Linked DNA regions of Homo sapiens: regions 1, 2, 3 and 4 are each linked to region 5. Evidence: promoter capture Hi-C in 16 types of primary human blood cells and fetal thymus (Javierre and others, 2016). All regions are on one chromosome and are shown on one strand. Each heading gives the region's core, a stretch centred on a gene start or on the middle of the fragment in contact. The rest is flanking DNA. Distances are from core to core; before and after follow the strand shown.

What was found. Contacts are between HindIII fragments. The CHiCAGO score rates a contact against its expected background, and 5 or more counts as called.
Region 1: a contact is called between the fragment with the promoter of FAM117B here and the fragment with the promoter of NDUFS1 in region 5, in 1 of 17 cell types (total CD8 T cells). The highest score is 6.4, in total CD8 T cells.
Region 2: a contact is called between the fragment with the promoter of WDR12 here and the fragment with the promoter of NDUFS1 in region 5, in 1 of 17 cell types (activated CD4 T cells). The highest score is 5.1, in activated CD4 T cells.
Region 3: a fragment that was not itself captured here is called in contact with the fragment with the promoter of NDUFS1 in region 5 in 1 of 17 cell types (neutrophils); the score reaches 5.3 in neutrophils.
Region 4: a fragment that was not itself captured here is called in contact with the fragment with the promoter of NDUFS1 in region 5 in 1 of 17 cell types (neutrophils); the score reaches 6.4 in neutrophils.

Annotation. Positions count from the first base shown.
Region 1 is chr2:202,633,579-202,636,278 of GRCh38, reverse strand. It overlaps FAM117B (family with sequence similarity 117 member B), which reads right to left and starts at 1,310. Exons shown (of 8, transcript NM_173511.4): 1 at 491-1,310. The coding sequence starts at 1,091. RefSeq lists silencers at 263-702, 803-852, 1,043-1,272. The HindIII fragment of the contact is 4,588 bases long and covers 1-2,700 here.
Region 2 is chr2:202,910,387-202,913,086 of GRCh38, reverse strand. It overlaps WDR12 (WD repeat domain 12), which reads left to right and starts at 1,414. Exons shown (of 13, transcript NM_018256.4): 1 at 1,414-1,651. The coding sequence starts at 1,611. CARF (calcium responsive transcription factor) reads right to left here and starts at 812. Exons shown (of 17, transcript NM_024744.17): 1 at 1-812. RefSeq lists enhancers at 532-581, 682-881, 922-1,071, 1,082-1,231. The HindIII fragment of the contact is 1,677 bases long and covers 498-2,174 here.
Region 3 is chr2:203,023,135-203,025,834 of GRCh38, reverse strand. All of the region lies in intron 2 of NBEAL1 (neurobeachin like 1), which reads right to left. Among named protein-coding and RNA genes, the nearest start is that of NBEAL1, 9.6 kb to the right of the region's middle. The HindIII fragment of the contact is 9,447 bases long and covers 1-2,700 here.
Region 4 is chr2:203,004,055-203,006,754 of GRCh38, reverse strand. No RefSeq gene overlaps it. Among named protein-coding and RNA genes, the nearest start is that of NBEAL1, 9.5 kb to the left of the region's middle. The HindIII fragment of the contact is 7,735 bases long and covers 1-2,700 here.
Region 5 is chr2:206,158,052-206,160,751 of GRCh38, reverse strand. NDUFS1 (NADH:ubiquinone oxidoreductase core subunit S1) reads left to right here and starts at 1,308. Exons shown (of 19, transcript NM_005006.7): 1 at 1,308-1,411. It overlaps EEF1B2 (eukaryotic translation elongation factor 1 beta 2), which reads right to left and starts at 857. Exons shown (of 6, transcript NM_001959.4): 1 at 693-857; 2 at 42-164. The coding sequence starts at 772. RefSeq lists a silencer at 521-590 and enhancers at 851-1,110, 1,221-1,630. The HindIII fragment of the contact is 3,079 bases long and covers 1-2,467 here.

The DNA of each region.
Region 1 (2,700 bases), core at 61-2,560, 3.5 Mb after region 5:
CTGCCACTGCTAATGCATTCAGTACCCCAGATCTGAAACTGTTTTGTGAACAGAAATACTTAGCAGCAGCAGATATGGGCTATGCCAACATTAACCTTGTCCCTAAAACAAAGTGACAAACCACTCCTAGCCTCACCCTCAAGGGAGGGTAAGCAGTAACGACTCCTCCAGGAGTAAGGCCAGGAAGCCAGGTTTATCATTAACACTCATCAGCTCAAGCCCAAGGTTTAGCCGCTGCACCTCCACCACCAGGGAGCCGTGCGGGGCGGGCAGAGGGGTGAATGAGGCGGGCGGGCGGGCGGGGCGTAGGGTAGGCCCGGGAAAGGCGGGGCCGCACTGCCGGGTCCCCCACCGCCCGGCACCGCCCCCAGCCCCGCCCCCAGCCACCCGGGCTCCGCGGCAGCTCTGCAGTCCCCGCGCGATTGCAGCGCGCGCCCGGGACCCCTTCCCGCAGCCGCCTCCCCCTTGCTGCGCGACCCCCAGCACTTACCTGCTTTGCAAACCGGGGCGCTGGGGCTCCTCTTCTCCGGCGAGCTTCGGCTCTGCTCCGGAGACCTCCTCCGATGCCGGACGCGGGCTGGGGGTGGGGCCGCGCTCACCTCGCCGGTCCACAGGTGGGTGGGCGACGAGCTGGGCGACGACACGGTGCCCAGCAGCGGCGGCGGCGGCGGCGGCCGTGGGGGGCTCCCGCGAGCTCCAGGCGCGGCGCTGCGCGTGGGGCTGGTGCCTCGCGTGGACGTCGCGGACGCGCCCGTCTGCGTGGCCACCGTGGGGCTGGTGCGCGCGGCCGCGTTCCCGCCGCCGCGCGTGGGGCTGGTGCTGCGCGAGGCGGTGCGCGGGCCACCGCCGCCGCCGCCGCCTGCGGGGCCTGAGGCGCCACCACAGCAGCCACCGTTGTTGTTGCCGCCGCCGCCGCCGCCGCTCCGCGTGGGGCTGCCATGTTGCTGCTGCTGCTGCTGCTTCAGCTGGAACGGAACCGTCGCCCTCATGGGCTGCAAGCGGCTCCCGGGTCCCCCGGCCGTGGCCACCGCACCACCCCCAAGGGAGCCGGCCGGCGTGGGGGACCCATTGCGCCTCACCCGCTGGGACATGGTCCCCCCCCTCCCCGGTGACTGGGCGAGACGGGGGGTTTTGTTGTTGTTGGGCTGCAGGGGGAGGATTCTCGAGGCCGGAGGGCAGGCCCCCCAAGACGGGGTGACGAAGCCGGACTCCGGGGTGCAGGGGGAGACCGGGCCGGGGCAGGCAGCAACGAGGTGGTGCAGCCGCCGCCGCCGCCGCCGCCGCTCCTCATCAACAATAGTGTCTCCTCTGCTGCCCCCGCCCCCCACGATCGCCCATTGGTGCAGCGTCAGCCGCGCTCGAGCCGCTCCACTGCTCCCATTGGCTACGAGCAGCTCGGGTCCCGGGCCCCCGAGGCCTTGAGAGCCTGGGTGTGCGCGGAGACCGTCTGCTCTTTAAAGAGAAAGAGACCCGCCCCCCGCGGGGAGGGAGCGGAGGAAATGGGCCCTGTGTGTATGTGTAGTGTGCGCGCGTGTGTGTGTACACGTGAGTGCCCGTGTACGCGCGCGCCTAGCCACGCGCGCCTTTCCTTTCCCGCCGGGGGGAGCCCTGGGGACTCAGACTCTGGAAGGTTGCCAAAGGAAATGTCCAGACCCGGAGCAGTTCCCAGGGATGGTCTGAAGCCTTTTCCGCATAACTCATTTCCTTACCCCAGTGTTCACTTGTGTTCACCTGTACGCGCATCTCGTTCGGGCTTTTATTCTTAATGTTTTTGTTCTGCCCTAATTCCATCTACCTATGGGCAGGGCTCAAAAGGAGAAGAAATTTAACTAATCTTACTGGCATTTTACGCCCCTCTCCTTTTATTTTTTAGAGCTCTACAAAGAGGCAAATCTCAGAAAGATTAAACTTGCCTGTTAGAATGCGATTTTAGATAGTATCTATAGAGTTCAGTTACCACATGTTATTCCTACCCTCCTGTATCTCAAGTAATCAAGACTATTTTAATCAGCTGCTTCGCTGTTCCCTGATACCTTGGAAGGATGGCTGCTACCTTACCAGTTTGTAAAGTGCTATAGTTTACAGAGGGCCTTATTTGATTCTACACGATCATTGTTTGAGACAGAACTGGGACAGCCATCCATATTTTTGTCTAGCGGAGGAAACAAGTCTTTGGTGTGGCAAAGACTCGGGAAGGCAGGCAGTGACACTATTTCTAAAATGACCTAAAGGGCTCCTCATCAAGAAAATAAAAAATGGTGGAGCCAAAACCTACACTCCCACCTGTCTGGCTATAAATTGCCTATCCATGACCTCTTTTCCCTCTACTATTTTTATTAGTTGTACATGCTAGACAGATTTCGTCGTGTAAAAATGTGGGAGTGGAGGGCATAGTATGATTCACTCTGGACCTGAAATCCTACTGGGTCCCTTTGCGCGGTGGTGGAAGGCCTTTTTTTTTTTTTTTTGAGAAGAAGTCTCTCTCTGTCACCTAGGCTGGAGTGCAGTGGCGGAGTGCACTGGCTCGAATCTCGGCTCAGTGCAACCTCCGCCTCCCGCGTTCAAGCAATTCTCCTGCCTCCGCCTCCCAAGTAGCTGGGATTACAGGCGCGTGCCGCCACGCCCCGTAATTTTTCTGTTTTTAGTAAAGAGGCGGTTTCACCATGTTGGCCAGGGTGGTCTTGATCTCTTGATCTCATG
Region 2 (2,700 bases), core at 165-2,664, 3.2 Mb after region 5:
TTTGCAATCCAGTTCTGCCTGATTCTAAACTGCTTGTCTCTTGAAGCGAATGCCTTAAAAAGTGACATTGGGATCAGGATAGTTATCTCCATCCATCCTCCCTCAGAAAAACAACTATATTAGAGTAATTCTTGGGACCATTGAGAACAATACACAGGCCTTTGGGTAACTTCAAGACAAAAAAGGCAAAAAGTCGGGGAGAAGGTGTGGGAGGATGATTTTCCCCTTCTAAACGTAAGGTATAAAAGGGCTCAGAAAGCGGAAAAAGAACCCTAAAAAGCAAGGTGCGGGACGGCGTGAGGGACCACACATTGGGCGCTCCGCCCAAGGGGTCCGGCTCCTTCTCCGCGGCGATGGCGCGTCCTTGGGCTCAGCAACCCTCCTGAAGACACCTAACCTCCTCCTTCTCCAGCCTGCCCCTCTGGGGCCTGCGAGCCCCGTCCCGGGCCGGGGGTCGGAAGCCGTGCCATGTGGGACCCCGAAAAGGCCCCCAAGCTTGGCGCGGAAGGCGCCGCCAGTGACCGGCTGCGGCTGGGGGCGGAGGCCGGCAGTTGCTCGGAGCTCCGGCGGGTCAGGAGGTGACGGGAGGAGGAGGAGGCAGGAGGAAGACGGGGGGTTGGGAGGTAGCGTCCGGTAGGTCTGCGCAGACAGCGCTGCCAGACCTCTGACTCCCCCAGTCCTGCCGCCGCCGATAGCCCCACAAGGCGACATGGGAAGTCCGCCGGAGCAGAGGGGAGAAAATTCAAAACGAGTCTACTCAACCTCGTCTTGGCTCCGAGGCCCCGCCATGGAGACCAGCATAATGCGCAGGCGCGCCCCACCGGGAGCGCGCAGAGCAGTCCCACGACAGTAGGACCACTATCGGCCACCGTCGACCGTTTCCTCTCTCATCCGTTCTTTTCTTTGTATTTCCGCCTCTCGCCTCTCTCTAAAAGCCGCAGTTAGAGGCGAGATTTAGGAAAAACCTCTGCCGAGTGAGCCTCTGGTTGGGAATATGTATGAGAAAAAAAAACTGGCAAGGCGTTAGTCAAGCAAAGCTGAAGGCAGAGGAAATTTGATATCTGGCTGGAGTCTAGAGGATTTAATGCAAATAAGATACTCTGAGGGCAGCGTGGCAAAAAAAGACTACAATTCCCGGTGGTCACAGCGTTTGAGAAGCGATGCTTTCTGAGACTTGTAGTAACTAGGAGCTGTGTTTGAACTATCCAGGCTCAGGACAGCCTCTTGAAAAAAAATTTTTTATTAATAAAGCGGATTTGAGTGGGATCTTTTTCCTAATCGATTACGGGCCCACACGTATGGGAAGAATTCTAACAATGATTAAAGGGACATGCTACCTTTACGACTATCCTTTTCTAATCGATGACTCCTAAATCTAGGAGTAGGTAGTCGATGTTTGTGGTCTGGGCGTCTGTAGAAGGGCAACCTCGTGCTTTCTGCAGAGGAGACCGGAGGGCAGAAGGCAGAGTCCAGGCTTAGACTGCAGTTCCTCGCTTACCTGTGCAGTCTAATTTTGAGCTGCCTCTTTGTAGTCTTAAAAGGCAGGAGCTTCGTGTTGTGGGTCTGCTAACCCGTACGTTTCCGTGGGCAAGTCGTGTGTACTCCTCGCCATGGCTCAGCTCCAAACACGCTTCTACACTGATAACAAGAAGTAAGTAAGCGTTCCAGCCTTCTCTCCCTTCCCCAGGTTCCTTTCCGACCACCCCTTTGGTATGACCTTGTGGATCCCTGGTTGTTTCTGCTGTCACCCCCACCCTTTTTTCTGAGATTACCTGCTTTCTAACCAGCTTCGTAGGTTCTATATAATTTGAATTGTGAGTGTGGAGGAGGCTGAAGGGCTTCAGGTTTGCTTTCTGAATGAAACATTTTATATGTGTAATTTAAAAATGAACAGTGGGCCTTGTTATAGGGTGTCTGCTAGTGGTGGTTCACAGTTTTTGAAAACGGAAAAAAAGTTTTTGAAAATGAAAAAACATATTTACCATTTATGTATATCTATATAGATATATAAACATTTTAACCAGTGGTCTCAAGGTCTGTTAGCACTCATTCGAAAACTAATTATATGCTGCCTTGTGGTATATATTGCATTGTTAGCTTTCTTTGTGTTTGCCTGGTCTCTTCCAACTATATTGGAAGTCTCTTGAGGGCAGGGACTATATATTAATTAAGCTTCTTGGATTGGCTGAGTCAACAAAAAATGTCAAATTTTTCAGTGAAAATGATAATATTTGTCGTGTTAATAAGCTAAAGTTAGCCATAAACTAGGAAACTCCCACCTGAGTTACATCTGTGGTTTTGTTTGTAGCTTTATGAGGAGAGCTAGTAAATCATCTTCTCTCCCCTTGTGTTGTTGCTGAAAGTATACATAAATCGTATTATCAATGCACCTGAGTATATGTACTTACTTACATACATTGCCTTAATACTTCTCTAGGAATGTGGTGATGCATTAACATAACCACTGTGTTTTTTAATTGAAAGTAGGTTTTTTTGTTTTTCTTAAAATAAAATTTTTTGAAATATGTGGGGCTTTTTTTTGTTTGTTTGGTTTGGTTTTTTTGGAGACAGAGTCTCACTCTGTTGCCCAGGCTGGACTGCAGTGGTGGGATCTTGGCTCACTGTAACCTCTGTCTCCCGGGTTCAAACAATCTTCCCGCCTCAGCCTCCAGAGTAGCTGGAATTACAGGCATGTGCCAC
Region 3 (2,700 bases), core at 11-2,510, 3.1 Mb after region 5:
GGCAGGTACTGACTCATATCATGGAACATTTCTTCCCTGAGGATAGAGAAACCAGGCAATATTTGCCCAACTGGATTTGCAGAGGACAGATACCAAGTGTCCTCTGAGTTCACAGACCATAATATCAAGAAAAACCACAATTGGATCTATATATACCACAGATCCCATGTTTCAAGACTGGTGTCATGATTGGATGAGAGTTTTGGAGTTCTTGAGATAGATATGAAGTACATTTTGCATATAGGAGAAATATGAATAATTGTGCCTAGAAAGAAGACTGCAGTAGATTGGATCTTTGGTCCCAATTCTTTACTTGCTTGTAACAAAACTTGCAACGTAATTTTGCAGAAAGGAAAAAAAAGCTGTAGCAAATGTAGAGCAATCAAAGTATTTCAGATATAATAATTGTTCAAGACTTGTTTCTAAAACTAAGGTCCGAGAATGCTCGGAGTTATCAGAAATATTTTCAGAGGTCTATAAGCTCCATATAGAAATTTTTAAAGTTTGCACTCCTGTTTTTATTAATTTTTAAATTACTTTAAGCATATTAGGGAAAACTACCTCGCGACTAGTATTGCTACTCGATTTCAAAGGTCACATTTGGATTGCTACCAAGGGATCATCAGTGACAGTTCAATTTATAAAGCAATATGTTTCAAATTACAGATCTCTGGATTTACAGATGGATTCTAAGGTATCTGAGAATTTTCAGATGTTCTACAGCAGTGCCACACAAAGTGTGGTACACAGACCAATAAAGGTCCTTGGCCAGGTTAGTACAAAGATAAAGAGGAAACATCTATCTACAAACTTTAGTAGCAGTTTGGTAGTAATTTTAAGTCTGTTGAATTTAATAATAAAAAATTAATAATATAAGGACTTGCATTTTTAACTTTTTCATTCTTTTCAGAACTGCTTTTGGAAAAGCCATCAATTTATGTATGTATGTATGTATTTATTTATTTATTTATTTCAGACAGAGTCTCGCTCTGTTGCCCAGACTGGAGTACAGTGGTGCGATCTCGGCTCACTACAGTCTCCGCCCCCCAGGTTCAAGCGATTCTCCTGCCTCAGCCTCCTGAGTAGCTGGGACCACAGGCCTGCACCACCATACACAGCTAATTTTTGTATTTTTAGTAGAGACGGGTTTCACCATTTTGGCCAGGCTAGTCTCGAACTCCTGGCCTCAAGTGATCTGCCCACCTCAGGCCGCCAATAATATGTAAACTGTCAAATCCAATACATGCTCCATAATGCTTTTCTTTTTTTCTTTTTTTTTTTTTGAGACAGAGTCTCACTCTATTGCCCAGGCTGGAGTGCAGTGGCACAAATTTGACCCACTGCAACCCCGGCCTCTTGGATTCAAGTGATTCTCTTGCCTCCTAAGTAGCTGCGATTACAGGTGCATGCCACCCCACCCAGCTAACTTTTGTATTTTCAGTAGAGATGAGGTTACATCATGTTGGCCAGGCTGGTCTCAAACTCCTGACCTCAAATGATCCTCCCACCTTGGCCTCCCAAAATGCTGGGATTACAGGTGTGAACCACCAGATGCGGACCGTAATACTTTTCTTGACTGCCATGTTGAATTTGACACCCCTGACTACTTTTTTCTTTTTTTCTTTTTTTTTTTTTGTGTGAGAAAGAGTCTTACTCTGTCACCCAGGCTGGACTAGAGTGGCATGATCCCAGCTCACTGTAGACTGAAACTCCCGAGCTCAAGCAAATCTCCCACCCTGCCCTCCCAAAGAGCTAGAATTATAGGCATGAGCCACTGCACCCAGCCAATATCCCTGTACTTTCTGAGGCAACCCAGTCACTCCTGGCTCCTCTCTCATTTAAACTTACAAACTCTTCTTCCTCTGTCACCTATTTATTTATTTATTTAAATAACAGAGACGTGATCTCACTGTTTTGCCCAGACTGGTTCCAAAACTCTGTCTTCTTCTTAAATGACAATGTTCTTCAGGGCTTCCTTTTACCTTCTTCTCTTCTTATTCTCATAATAACCCTCCAATAATTCCCAATATGAGAACTCTCAAATCTTTATTTCCAGCACAGACCTCTCTTCTGAACTCCACATATTGAGTATTTCTACCTGAATGTCCCACAAACATGGAAAAGTCAGCATGCTTACCTGAAAACCTAGTTAGTGATCTTGTCTAGCTAACTGTGCATGGGAAGACCACGGTGTTTTTTTTTGTCCGAAACAAACAGAAAAAAAAAAAACACACAAGAAATTATTTCAGACTCTTACACATCTGCACATTATACTCCACACTTACACTTAAGTACTATCAATTTCACCTTCTTCCAGGGAAATTTAAAGTTTGATGCTCAAAAGGAAAGAATTTAAAAAGTTAATGCATCTTAACAACGTTTTTCATTTCAGGTCCACTGATATAAACTATACATTTCTTGCTTTCATACCTAAATTCTGAAAATAAACATGTAAGTGGTAACTACTAGTACTAGGCTGTCAATGATTTTGTTTTCTTTTCTTTAGAGTCAAAGAACATTACCTTCCTTACATACAAAGCTGTTATTAAGCCACAGAAAATCAAGAGCCATTTTCACACTTTGCACATACCAGAGACTTACTAAATGTGGCTTAAATTATAAGGGTTGATATGTATTGGTCCATCTTACTAAAAACTTATTTAGGATTATAACCAAAATTGTACTAATAAGTTAATAATT
Region 4 (2,700 bases), core at 161-2,660, 3.2 Mb after region 5:
AGAGGGGTACTTAAGTCTCCAACTATAATAGTGGATTCATCCATTTCTCCTTGGAGTTCTATCAGTTTTTGCCTCACATATTTTGATATCTGTTGTTAGGGAAATATGTGTTAAGGATTGTTATGTCTTCTTGGAGAAATGACCCCTTTATCATTATGTAATGGTCCTCTTTATCACTGATAACTTTCCTTGTTCTGAAGTCTGCTCTGTCTGAAATTAATATGTTTACTTCCTCTTTCTTTTGATTAGTATTAACGTGGTATGTTTTTCTTTACCCATTTACTTTTAATCTATATGTGTTTTTATATTTAAAGTGGGTTTCTTGTAGATAATATATAATTGGGTCTTGTTTTTTGATCCATTATGTCTTTTAAATGACATATTTAGACCATTAACATATAAAGTGATTATTGACATAGTTGGATTGATGTATACCATATTCATTACTGTTTCCTATACATTGTACTTATTCTTTGTTCCTATTTTTGTCTTTCACTCTTTTTCTGCCTTTTACATATATATATATTTTTTTTTTAAATTTTTTTTTTTGAGACAGGGTCTTTGTTGCATAGGCTGGAATGCAGTGGCATGATCATGGCTCACTGCAATCTCAAACTCCTTGGCTCGAGTGATCTGCCCACCTCCACCTCCCAGGTATTTGGCACTGCAGGCACACTCCACCATGCCCAGTTAACTTTTGTATTTTTTGTAGAGACAGGGTCTTGCTATGTTGCTCAGGCTGGTCTTGAACTCCTGGATTCAAATGACCCTCCCACCTTGGCCTCCCAAAGTGGTGGGATTATAGGCATGAGCCATGGCACTCGGCCAGTGCCTTTTAAAATCTTAATTATTTAATATGATTCCATTTCCTCTACTTTTGTAGCATATCAGTTTTACCTTTTTTTTTTTTTTTGAGACGGAGTTTTGCTCTTGTCACCCAGGCTGGAGTGTGGTGGCGCGATCTCGGCTCACTGCAACCTCTGCCTCCCAGGTTCAAACAATTCTGCTTCAGCCTCCCAAGTAGCTGGGATTACAGGCGCCCACCACAATGCCCAGCTAATTTTTGTATTTTTAGTAGAGATGGGGTTTCCCCATGTTGGCCAGGCTGGTCTCGAACTCCTGACCTTAGGTGATCCACCCACCTTGGCCTCCCAAAGTGCTGGGATTACAGGTGTGAGCCACTGTGCCCGGCCCAGTTTTACTCTTTTTTTTTTTTCCTACCTTATTTAGTGGTTGTCCTAGAGTTTGCAGTATACATTTACAACTACTCCAAGTTCACTTTCCAATAGCACTATACCAATTCACAGATATTGCAAGAACCTTATCACAAAACATTCCTAATCATTCCTAATTCCTCTCTCCTGTTCCTTATGTCATTTCTGCCATTCACTTACACCTAAGCAATTGTGTGTATACACACACACACAATTACATTGTTGCCTAGTATTATTTTGAACAAACTGTTGTCTGTTAGATTAACTGAGAATAAGAAAAATAAGAGTTTATATTTTATATTCACTTATTATTTCTCTGATGCTCTTCATTTATTTATGCAGAGAGTTTCTGACCTATGTGTCATTTTCCTTCTTTCTCAAGAAGTTCTTTTAATTATTTCTTATAAGGAAGGTCTGTTGGCAACAAATTCCCTCAAATATTGTTCTGTTCATCTGAGAAAGTCTTTGTGTTTCACTTTTATATGATAATCTTATGGGATACAGAATTCTAGGCTGGTGTTTTTTTTTTTTCTCTCAATATGTTAAATGTTTTACTCCACTGTCTTCTTGATTGCATGATTTCTGATGAGAAGTTGGATATAATCCTTATCTTGCTCCTGCATAGAAAGCTGTTTGTTTTCCTCTGGCTTCCTTCAGGATTTTCTCTTTATCTTTGATTTTCTGTAATTTGAAAATGATAGCCTAGGTGTAGTTTTTTTAAACCACTTATCCTGCTTGGTGTTCTCTGTGCTTTCTGGATCTCTGGTTTGGTGTCTATTGCCAATTTGGGAAGATTCTCTGTCACTGTTGCTTGAAATATGCTTCGCTTCCTTTTTTTTCCTTCTGGTATTCCTATCACACACATTTATACCTTTTGTAGTTATTCCACAGTTCTTGGATGTTCTGAATCATTTTATTCTGTCTTTTTTCTCTTTGCTTTTCCATTTTGGAGGTTTCTATTGACATATTCTCAAACTCAGAAATGTTCTCTTAGCCATGTCCAGTTTACTAATGAGCTCATCTTCATTCAGTCTACTAAGGAGGATTCTTCATTTCTGTTATAGTGTTTTTGATCTGTAGCATTTTAAAAATTCTTTCTTAGAATTTACATCTCTGCTTACATTGCCCATCCGTTCTTGCATGCTGTCTGCTTTATCCATTAGAGCCCTTAGCATATTAATCATAGTTGTTTTAAATTCTCAGTCTGGTAATTTCAACATGCCTGTCTTATATGAATTTGGTTCTGATCTTTGCCTTATGTCTTCAGGTTGTTTTTTGCCTTTTAGGATGCTTTGTAATAATTTTTTCTTTTCTTTTTTTTGAGATGGAGTCTCACTCTGTAACCCAGGCTGGAGTGTAATGGCACAATCTTGGCTCACCGCAACCTCCGCCTCCCGTGCTCAAGCAATTCTCCTGCCTCAGCCTCCCGAGTAGTTGGGATTACAGGCACGTGCCACCGCACCCGGCTAATTTTTGTTTTTGTTTT
Region 5 (2,700 bases), core at 59-2,558:
GAGCAGTCTTATTCTTCAGCTCTATACAAAGATGATTTTACCTGGCCTTTTCCTTTTCGTAAGACTTGATGTGATTATACCAACGTAGGGCATGACACAAGTCGGCAGGCGGTGGGCTGGACACGGCTTCAAATACTGCCACATCTGCTTGTGATGGCACATACCTGCCAAGGACACAGAAACATTCACACACACCTTTGAAAAACAAACGCCAGCGAATAAATAATAAATACCGTATGCATCACATTAATTAGTGGGCACTAACCCCAGCAGGGTTGCTTTAATGCTTTTCTTTTCTTATTAGCTCCTTCAAATCAAACCATATGTTTGGGTCACCGCGCTATCCTGAGAAATGTCTGCCACTAAGTAGACCTCAAATACTGCAATGTCTGGCGTTGCTCTATCTACAGCTTAACATGTATTAACTGGGCAGCGATGCGGAAACACCTGGCTGAATTAAGTGTAAATAAAGCACATTTTAACCTTTCCTTGCTCGTGAACCGCTCCCCGGAGGCCGGGCTCGCCCCACACGAGGGCCTTGGGAGACGGCAACGGGGCGCTTTCCCCTCCCTCTCGAAAGGGCCCCGGGCCCGGCCTCCCTCCCTCCCGCGGCAGCCGACACGCTGCGCCACGTGGCCCCGGCCCCGGGCGGAGAAACCTCCCCGCCACCCCGACTCAGCCCGTCCGCTCACCCCTCGATGTAGCTCTTGTCCGCCAGGTAATCGTTGAGCACCTGGAGGCCGGCAGGGCTTTTCAGGTCTCCGAAACCCATGGTGTCGGCTGTATCCGAGAGCTGGGGAGCAGCAGAAAGAGAGCGCGCAAATTGTGGGCGCCCCACGCTGAAGAGAGGAAAAAGGACCCGAAGAGACCGGAAAATTCCTTATATAGAGACGGAGGCGTTTCCCTCCACCGCGCCGGACCGAAGGTTAAAGGTCAAAGTACTTTTGCATTCCCACTTCTCCACGTACGAATTGGGGGCCCTGAATTAAATGGCCCACAAATTGTCCATGGACCTTTCGTTGCGTTTGGAAGTAAATTAATAAAATAGGCATGTCTTAAGTTCGTACCTCCACGGCTCCCGAAGATGACGGGAACCAGCCCTAGAAGCGCCGGAGATGACCGAAGACGCCCGGCCTCGAGGCTGGGGCCACTTCCGGCGGAACTGCGGGTCCAAGTTGTCCTTCCCGCCTCCGGGCTGGGCCGACCTCAGCTCCGCCCTCTGGTCGGCTGACGGAAATTGCCGACAAACTTGTCGAATGCAAGGATTCTAGTCCCTCCGGGCTTTCCGTTCTCCAGGCCCGGCTGACAGAGTTAGCCGAGGCCGCCATATTGAATAAGCGACCCGGCCTCCTAGGGGGTCGTCGTGGTCCAGACAGTTTAGCAGAACAGCCTCCGCGGCTCCGGGGAGAAGGTGAGGTCTTGTATGGATGGGAAGGGTGAGGTGCGTCGGCCAGAGGCTTATTTATTGACGGGACTGTTTCCTTTGGCCCACGCGACGTAGTCTTCTGTTGTCCTTGACTGGGCGCCGCCTCCCGCCCCGCCGCCTCGGAAGCCCCTGAGAGCCGGCAGATGGGGGGCTTTTAGCCACGGTCTCTGGTCTGATGAAGCAGAAAAGAAGATGAGGATCAGGGGGTCCTCGGGAACGCTGTCACGAATGTAGGCTTGCAGGTGACCTTCCCTCTGCAGGGAAAATTCAGGACATTTCCCTCTCAGAGGAGGAGGCCGTTTTATTCCCCGGGAGAGGACCAGTGTCCGATGACTTAGGCCTTAAGACTAAGCCTTTCCCCCCAGATTTTTACACGCCTGATACAGTGCATGATTGTTTGGTCGCTGTTGTGTTAGCAATGGCTCACGCTTCTGTTTGTTGTCCTTGTTTGTTTGGTCCATTGACCACGTTGGACAGCATTTTTTTATTCCTTTAACTAACGGGAAATTGAGAAAAACGACTTTTGAAAAGTTAGCCCAGGATTGCATTGCAAATAACAAAACGTTGTTTACAGGTTATTGGGATCCAGTGCTTGAACTGTAAGGTCTTGGATCAGACACAACTCTGTTCACACACGAATTGACGGTATAGAAGTGTAACGTTAACTGTTTTTGATGAATAAACAAGTTATTTTTGTTTTGCGGAATATTCTTGTTTTCACCGACTTAAGGCTGCCAGAGCACCTGCACTTTTTAAATCCGGGAAAGTGGTCTCTACAAATTAACGACCAGAAATTAGAGATTCAGTTCACTTAACCGTTATTGAACATTTACTACGAGCCAGAAATGAGTCCGTAAAGAAGAATAAAATGGATGATATGCTGGGGGAATCGTAAATGTTAGATAGCCTGGTCAATGAAACTGAGAAAAGGCTTTTAAGCCAAGATTTGAAGGATAAGGAGGGGCCAGGGAAGAGCATTTCAGTCTGAGGTCACAGCCGGTGGCAAGAGGGGAGAGGCTGTGTGGGAATAGTGTGGAAGCTTGGTGACCTGTTAAGCTATTGAAGGCCGGAGGCGGTGGCTCACTCCTGTAATCCCACCACTTTGGGAGGCCGAGGCGGGCGGATCACGAGGCCAGGAGATCGAGACCATCCTGGCTAACACGGTGAAACCCTGTCTCTACTAAAAATACAAAAAATTAGCTGGGCGTGGTGGCGGGCGCCTGTAGTCCAGCTACTTGGGAGGCTGAGGCAGGAGGCTGGCGTGAACCCGGGTG